Regions from separate parts of the Homo sapiens genome. Here region 1 is linked to region 2. The links are contacts of gene promoters, found by promoter capture Hi-C in human tissues and cell types (Jung and others, 2019). All regions are on one chromosome and are shown on one strand. Each heading gives the region's core, a stretch centred on a gene start or on the middle of the fragment in contact. The rest is flanking DNA. Distances are from core to core; before and after follow the strand shown. Region 1 overlaps DVL3 (dishevelled segment polarity protein 3). Region 2 holds the start of EIF2B5 (eukaryotic translation initiation factor 2B subunit epsilon).

Evidence for each region. Contacts are between HindIII fragments. The study calls those that stand out against the background at their distance.
Region 1: a fragment that was not itself captured here is called in contact with the fragment with the promoter of EIF2B5 in region 2 in 4 of the 25 tissues and cell types used here (dorsolateral prefrontal cortex, hippocampus, neural progenitor cells and 1 more).

The regions. Positions count from the first base shown.
Region 1 is chr3:184,168,387-184,173,340 of GRCh38, forward strand. It overlaps DVL3 (dishevelled segment polarity protein 3), which reads left to right. Exons shown (of 15, transcript NM_004423.4): 14 at 1,620-1,835; 15 at 1,933-4,954. The coding sequence ends at 2,369. Among named protein-coding and RNA genes, the nearest start is that of AP2M1, 4.0 kb to the right of the region's middle. RefSeq lists an enhancer at 3,155-3,449. The HindIII fragment of the contact is 7,229 bases long and covers 1-4,954 here.
Region 2 is chr3:184,133,703-184,137,007 of GRCh38, forward strand. It overlaps EIF2B5 (eukaryotic translation initiation factor 2B subunit epsilon), which reads left to right and starts at 1,656. Exons shown (of 16, transcript NM_003907.3): 1 at 1,656-1,878; 2 at 2,910-3,034. The coding sequence starts at 1,684. It overlaps EIF2B5-DT (EIF2B5 divergent transcript), which reads right to left and starts at 1,559. Exons shown (of 2, transcript NR_183721.1): 1 at 834-1,559; 2 at 1-576. RefSeq lists enhancers at 45-686, 1,556-1,615, 1,936-2,005 and a silencer at 1,756-1,865. The HindIII fragment of the contact is 14,690 bases long and covers 1-3,305 here.

The DNA.
Region 1 (4,954 bases), core at 757-3,256, 35 kb after region 2:
CTTCTCACTCGTCAAGGTCTCAGCTAGGGTGTTGTAGGCTTAAAGGGAAGAACTGGAGGCCTAGGTAGCCCCGAGGAGCACACAGTCATTCCCTCAAAACAAACAGCCTGGAGGCTCACGTCATCACCAGCTCTGGGCAACAGCTGACAGACCACTGCTTTCCTCCACCACCACTCCCCATGCTGGCTGCTGGCCTCTTGACAGGTTGATGGCTTGGCTGCAGGCTCCACAGGCAGCCTCAGAGCCCTGTCTCCTGACTTCTCTCTTGGAAGGCTGGGGCTGGCTCTTCTTAGGGCTGGGAGGAATGTCTCATCTTAATAGGGCCGGTGGCCTCAAGGGCAGTTGTAGCTCTCTTGGAGCTCTGGGACCTGGTACCGATAGTGTGTGAGCAGAGGGTGTCCCAGGCAGGTATTCAGTCCTGGTGGCCCCTTATATTCTCTTCAATGTAGTTCCAACATTGGTGGGAGTAGCCTTGCCATTAAGGAATGTATAATTTCCCCGGGGGCGCCAGGATCGTGAGATGAGTAATGTTGGTGGAGTGAGACAGTGCTATGAAGAGCTAGGCCTGGCTGGGAACGGGGTGGAGAGCAGTGGGGGAGGCACCTAAGTTGTTCTTTCCTTCTGGCCCCTTCCCACCCTACTCACCCTGCCCAGCAGCACTGGGAAAGTATAATCAGGGCCAAGTACCTTCTATATAGGGAATCTCTGGAAGGCCCTGCACTCATTCTAGGCTTTTAGTGGGTATTTAGTTCTAGGTGAAGGGGTGGGTAACACTTTACCTAAATTTCCCAAACTGCTCCTTGTCCTAATTAATGACCTCATCTGAGAAGGTAAGGAGAAAGTAAGCTACTCTTCGCGTCTGTTCTGATTAGTTTAGGCTGAGCTGAAGGTAGTGTTCGCTATTGTGCCTCATGAACTTCAGGTGCGACATACCTGGTGGCTGTCTAGTATTTCAGCCTTCCAAATTCTCCAGTCTTGCACCAGCTGAGTGAACGGAAGAGAAAATGGCCACATAAGAGTTTTGCAGGCCGGGCGCAGTGGCTCGCGCCTGTAATCCCAGCCTTTTGGGAGGCTGAGGCGGGCAGACCACCTGAGGTTAGGAGTTGGAGACCAGCCTGGCTAACGTGGCAAAACCCTGTATCTACTAAACATACAAAAAAAAAAATTAGCCAGGTGTGGTGGTGCAACCCTGTCAGGAGGCTGAGGCAGGAGAATCGCTTAAACCAGGGAGGAAGAGGTTGCAGGGAGCTGAAACTGTACCACTGCACTCCAGCCTTGGCCACAGAGCAAGACTCCGTCTCAAAGAGTTTTGCCGCTTCTAGCCCACTGAGGCCAGCAGAGAAAGTGCAAAAGCTTGGCCAGGGCCTTCAAGGGATTGGGAGGTACAGCTTTGGCTGAGAACCTAGAATGATGACTCAGGGTTGTCCTGAGAAGGGTCTCCCCGGGGCTGGCTCTGGTGGTGGCAAAGGGGGTCTGCAGAAGGGGGGAGCTCTCTGGGCTGTGCCTCCTCTCATTCTAGCCAGAAACTACCACGGTCTCTCTCATCCAGAGCCCACCTGACCTAGGCTAGGGACCTCTCTCCGGAAAGACCTAGCTCCATCCGGCCCTCCCCTTCACAGACATGGCCAACCTGTCTCTCCACGATCACGATGGCTCCAGTGGCGCCTCTGACCAGGACACACTGGCCCCTTTGCCGCACCCGGGGGCCGCCCCTTGGCCCATGGCTTTCCCGTACCAGTACCCGCCACCCCCGCACCCATACAACCCGCACCCGGGCTTCCCGGAGCTGGGCTACAGCTACGGCGGGGGCAGCGCCAGCAGTCAGCACAGCGAAGGTAAGGTAGAGGGGCCGTGGAGGAAGGCTATAGGTGGGCCCCAGGCTTCCCCCGCCCGCTCAGCCTGCCCCACCCCGGCCCTGTTTGCCTCCTACAGGCAGTCGGAGCAGTGGCTCCAACCGTAGCGGCAGCGATCGGAGGAAGGAGAAGGACCCGAAGGCCGGGGACTCCAAGTCCGGGGGCAGCGGCAGCGAATCGGACCACACCACACGCAGCAGCCTGCGGGGGCCGCGGGAGCGGGCGCCCAGCGAGCGCTCAGGGCCGGCGGCCAGCGAGCACAGCCACCGCAGCCACCATTCCCTGGCCAGCAGCCTTCGCAGCCACCACACACACCCGAGCTACGGTCCTCCCGGAGTGCCCCCTCTCTACGGCCCCCCCATGCTGATGATGCCCCCGCCGCCCGCGGCCATGGGGCCCCCAGGAGCCCCTCCGGGCCGCGACCTGGCCTCAGTGCCCCCGGAACTGACCGCCAGCAGACAGTCCTTCCGCATGGCCATGGGAAACCCCAGTGAGTTCTTTGTGGATGTGATGTGAGCAGGGCCCCTCCCCCAGCTCCATTCCGCTCCCACCCCAGCCGGCTGCGTTCCTCTCTCCATCCGTCCGTCTTTTTTACTTTGTCTGGTACCTGAAAGGGAAATAAAAGGAACTAAATCCAGGTGCGCTAACTGCTCGCAGGGTGCTGCGAGGGTGGGGTGCACCTACCGATTGGCTCTGCAGCCCCCTAACCTGCCTCTGGCCCCAGTTCGTTTCCTCTGCCCACTAATCCCTGCGCAGGACTTCCCAGGACCCCTTTTGTCTCTGGGACCAGACTTGTTGGTGCTACCCCTTACTCCCCTCTGCAACCCCCATTTTGGGAGTTGACCCCAGCAATGACCTTGGTGGCACGCTCACTCCCTCATTCTCTCGTTTCCCCTTTAGCTCCCTTTCACCATTTATTCAGCTACATCATCCCTCTATTAACCCCACCCCATCAGGCACGTGTGCAAACCTCTTGACTTTACCCCACATTACTGAAACCAAAATATATTTGCTTCATCTGCCCCTACTAACCATCCCCCTGCCTGCTGCCTCAGTCCTGCAACCTAAAGCTGTAGTCGCCTCCAATAGCCATCCATGCCATCCCTGCCTGTGCCTAGATCAGAGGCCCAGAGGGCCCCCTCAGTTGCCTGAGCAGCTGGTGGCTTCCAGGGAGCATCTCTGCTCTACCCCTGCCCCATGCCTGCCCTGCGTGCTGGTTCCTTCAGACCCCTAACCCTACTAACCAGCAGGCTCATCTCACCTCCAGGCCTGAAACATTTCTTTTCTTTCTTTTTTCCTCCCCCAATTTACCCTGGGCCTGGAGCAGCCAAGAATTTCGGGCTGTTTGACTTTCTGTGAGCCCCCAGCGAGGGGAGGCCCAGCCTCCGAGGAGACCAGGAACCCTGCTTCAGCAGCCCCTCAGGGCTTCCCAAGGATGTCCAGCCCCCACACCCACACGTTAACATAATGAGTCACTAGGCTTCTGGGGAGGGCCCAACTTCACCCATGCATGAGAGACTCTCCTCCTTTCCAGAGAGAATCGGATCGCACCACGTGTGGCAGCCTGCGGCGGGGGGAGGGGGGCCTCTTTAGCTCTCTTTATCTTTCTCTCTCACTCATGTATGCATACATGCACAGAGATGCATACACAGGTGCCTATGCAAGTTCATTTAAGCCTCAGGGCTGGTCCCTGCCCAAAGGGCTGGACCCTCCTAATCCTCTCCTAGGTTGTGGGGCTGGTCCCCTGACACCCTTCTCCCCTTCCTGGTAGACCTTAAACCTCGCACACATGTCCCCAGCATTTTCTCACCTGGATAAAGCCCATAAGCTGGGTCTCAGGCTGGGCTCAGCAAAGGACTCGCCTTGCAACCGACAGGCCATTCCCACCCCCACACACAACCTCCCCTGTTTTCACATTCACCATGGCATCCCAGAGCAAGGACACAGGAGCCCACAGGCCAGTTGAGGTTGGGCAAGGAGACTTCCAGGACTTCCAGACAGAGTACCAGGTTTTATTTTTCACCTTATTCTCTACTTTAAACAAATCATAACTTTCTCTTTAAGCCTCTGCTATAAATTCTCCTGGCTCTCCTGGGCTTCCATATTTTGGGGGCTGGGGTGTCAAAAGTGAGATGAAGTTCTTAGCTCCAGGTTTTGGGGTAAACCAAGGTAGGAACATTTTGGCATTTATTTCAATTAACAATACTTCCTTGGACGGGTGCGGTGGCTCACGTCTGTAATCCCAGCACTTTGGGAGGCTGAGACAGGTGGATCACTTGAGGTCGGGAGTTCGAGACCAGCCTGGCCAACATAGCAAAACCCTGTCTCTACTAAAAATACAAAAATTAGATGGGTGTTTTGGCACCTGCCTGTAATCTCAGCTACTCAGGAGGCTGAGGCACAAGAATCGCTTGAATCCAGGAAGCAAGCGGAGGTTGCAGTGAGTTGAGATCGCACTCCAGCCTGGGTGACAGAGTGAGATTCTGTCTCAAAAGCAAACTAACAAAGAAAAACAATACTTCCTGGGGTTTTGGTGTGCAGAGGGCTTTGTTGGAAGTGTGACTCAATCTTGCCTGCCTTCTGGGAGCTCTAGAATTGTTCCCAACCCAGTCCATGGCTTCTAGCCACCACTACAGGGCTGTTTCATGTACTTCTCTCTCTGACTCTGTCTTGTCCGACTCTCTTGAGAATTTCTCAACGATTGCTCATGCCTGTCAGTATCAGTGCTTCCATCGTTCCATCTTTGATTCACTTCTCTTTCCTTTCTATTTACTCCCAAAATGGAGTCATTCATCCTGATGTCCTCAATTGCTGCTGATATGCTGGTGATTCCCAAATACATAGCTCCAACCCCCAACTTCCCCCAGACTTTAGATCTGTATTGGTATTACCTACTGGACATCTCTATGGACAGTTCCGTATAGACTCAACTCATCTGCCCAACCAAGTATGTTCCTCCTGAATTCCTCTCCTGGTTACTTCATCACAATCTACATAGGCTCACCAGCTAGAAACATTTATGAGCTTACATTCCTTCTTCCCATATCTTATCAGCATATCATATCCATTTCACTCCAACACTCTGTCTTGAATTTGGCCCT
Region 2 (3,305 bases), core at 406-2,905:
CTTCCTGAAACTCGTCTATTAAAATCATATCCATATAGCTACCAGTCTACAGAATTTTAAGACCTGGATTTACCATAAGCACAAATGCCTTTCGGCAGCGGATTCACCACTTCCCAACTTCCCAAGGTTGCGGGAATCATTTAAAATAAATTCTGCAATCGGACCTACTTTCCATACCCAAACACCCCCCCAAGAGTGTGTGTGTGTGTGTGTTTGTGTGTGTGTGTGTGTGTCCTATTTAATTCCTTCTCCCCTCCCCCATTTCTACCTCTGGATTTGTAGGGCAGTTGAACATTCCTTTTCTACAACGTGCATTCATTTAATGGAAAACTTTTACTTAGTTGGCTTCAGCCTTTCCTTTTCTAGGATAAATCAAATGGTTTTCGTTCCGCACCCTAACGAGGCAAGAAATGACAAACTCCTCGGTCCCCCTAGGCGGGCGCCGGAGCACGACGGGTCAAGTCGGAATCGCCACGTGGAAACAGCTCTCAGCATCGCGAACTCCAAATCCCGACGTGCAACGCGGGGCGGGATGGGAACAGTTTGCAGGAACTGCAGAAGCCTGTGGCGTGGAACCTGGACAGGTCCCGTGCAGAAAGGGCGCTATGCCTTACAGAAAAGTTCCTTGCCTCCCAAATGACGCCCAGCCTTCCTGCCCCGTTCCACCGCTTTCCCACGGCCCCGCCCCTCTACAGAGTTGGTTTATTCCCCGCAGCCACCGCTTCTTTCCCCAAAGAGAAAAAGGTGCTGCTGCGCCTTTTCAAGCCTTGGACCTTTACGCCCGCACTTTCCTCTGCCCAGAAAGCTTACTGCTTAACTCCAGTACAACTTACTGGTGCGCCTGGATCCACCCCCGTCTCCACTCTGCTTAAGACACAGGAGGCTGATAGGCTGGAAGAATGAATAGATGACATAAAATAGTCATTGTTATCCCCACATAACTTGGCAGCAAGATTGTGGAACTCTGCAGTCAGACAGATCGGGTTCCAATACCAGTTCTTCCACTTACTAGCTGGGTAAACTTCCTTCATCCTTCTGAGAGTTCAAGAAACGTTTGCTGAACGAATGAATAAGATGTTTTGCAGAGATAATGCTTGTATCGTGCCTGGCCCAAAATCAGCGCTCAATGGAATTACTGGTCTCCCTACTATATGCCTGCCACCTTCTCTATTTATGCAGGTTCTGAGTTCCTCGCAGCGGGGGAACATCTGGCTCGGTTCTATCTCCCCAAGGCGCTGGGTTCCCAGAAGTTTCTAGAATGAATACGGAGGGCTACATATTTCACATGCGCGGGGCGGGGAAACTGCTGGGCGATTACAGATTCCCGATGGAGCTGGCCCCTTCGTGGCGACCACAAGTCCTATCACGCCACAAGAATCTCGGCTTGTTCACCTACAAATGAAGGCCGACGATACTTGCAGACCGAGTCTGACATCTATGGGACCCCACTCCTACCCTGCGCCTCAGGGGCCGGGACAACCGTGACCCGTACCGACTCCTCGCGCCTCCGGGATCAACCTCAGACCCCTGTGGGCTCCCGGGGAAGACGCATGCGCACTGCTCCCTCCTCGTCTCCTTCCCTTCGTTAATTAGTCCATCGCATTTCAAGTGCTGGATCCTTTTTGTCCCCTACTGCGTGCGGTGGCAGCTTCCTTGCGGAAGTGGTGACCGTGAGAGAAGAAGATGGCGGCCCCTGTAGTGGCGCCGCCTGGTGTGGTGGTTAGTCGGGCTAACAAGCGCAGCGGCGCGGGGCCGGGAGGCAGCGGTGGCGGGGGAGCCAGAGGGGCGGAGGAGGAACCGCCGCCGCCCCTACAAGCAGTTCTGGTGGCCGATAGCTTCGATCGCCGCTTCTTCCCCATCTCCAAGGACCAGCCTCGGGTGAGCGCCGCGCACGCGAGCAGCCAGAGGGCAGGAAGGGTGGCAGGGCTGGAGCAAGTTCTCATTTCGGCTAACTACAACAGCATGCCCTTGAAGGACCTGCGTCTATGCTGTTATCCTAAAACCGGATGCAGAGGGACTGTCTAAACCCTGATGACTGCTGACCAAGTTAGTGGCCGGCAGATTTGGGCATTCGTAATGCTGTCCACCTCGGGTTTGAAAGGAATGAAGAGAGCTAAATGTAGAAACAGCGCTTGAGAGAAGCCTTCACGCGGGGATTCAGTGCCCCTAGAAGAGGCTGCGCCGCTTTTAACCTTGCCGATGACGGTTGCTTAGGTGAAAAGAAACGACCTTTTGCCTCTGAAAGGGCGGTAATATGCCTTAAAAAGAGCGGGCTAGATCTCAGGCAGTGTATTTTTTTTTTCCTTCCAGGTTCTAATGATAGCCGGTGCTATCTGTCGAAAGGACAAAATGGGTTTAGTGGTTGATTGCCATCAGCCCCCGAGTTGTCTAGACAATGGGGTATTGGACTCAGCTGGGTCGTTCAGCAGTCAGTTCAGAAAGAGGGAACTGCATTGGATTTAAGGAAAATCCTCTCTAATTCCCTCGAAAAAGCCTAATGGCTGTTCATTTTTGACAAGTGACGGGAGATGGCTAACCTCTGACACTTAGAAAGGGATCAAGGAAGGAAATCTTATGGGGAAGAAGGCCTTAGCAATGCTTAAATTTATGGAAATATGATTGATTTCCAGTATTATCCTTTGCCAGCAGTGAACTGCCATTCTGTCACAGCTCTGTGTCTGATACAAGGCACATAGATTCTGTACTTACCATCCCCAAATTGCAATGTCTCAGACTCAGGCTTAGAGCATGGCATGAACATCAAAGGCAGGAACCTGTTTATCTTTGAATTGGAAAGATACAGCAAAATTACACTGTTTGGAAATACGAATAGAGGAGTGAAAATTGTTGCAGTGGGGTACCCAAAGGGATTCGAGACCTCAAGTTTTTTTTCATCTTGTATCCTTCAGGTCCTCTTGCCCCTGGCCAATGTGGCATTAATTGACTACACTCTGGAATTCCTGACTGCCACAGGTGTACAGGAAACATTTGTCTTTTGTTGCTGGAAAGCTGCTCAAATCAAAGAACATTTACTGTAAGGCCCTGCAACTTTTCTTTCCATGTTTCGCCATCTTTTTCCAGTTTTTTCAGGATGAATGTAACTAAGGGGAAATGTGAGAGGGGAAAAATGTGTCTACTTAGATGTCATTGTAAGTTCTAAGGGTATTTTCTACACTTATCAGGAGGTGAGCAGCTGAAACTTTGTATCTGTCTGTCTTGGGTTTTCTGTGACAAAGATTAAAGAATAAACTTGGGTTTTTTCTGAATCTCATTATAAAGTTTGGTGCCAGTGGACTTTGCTTTTA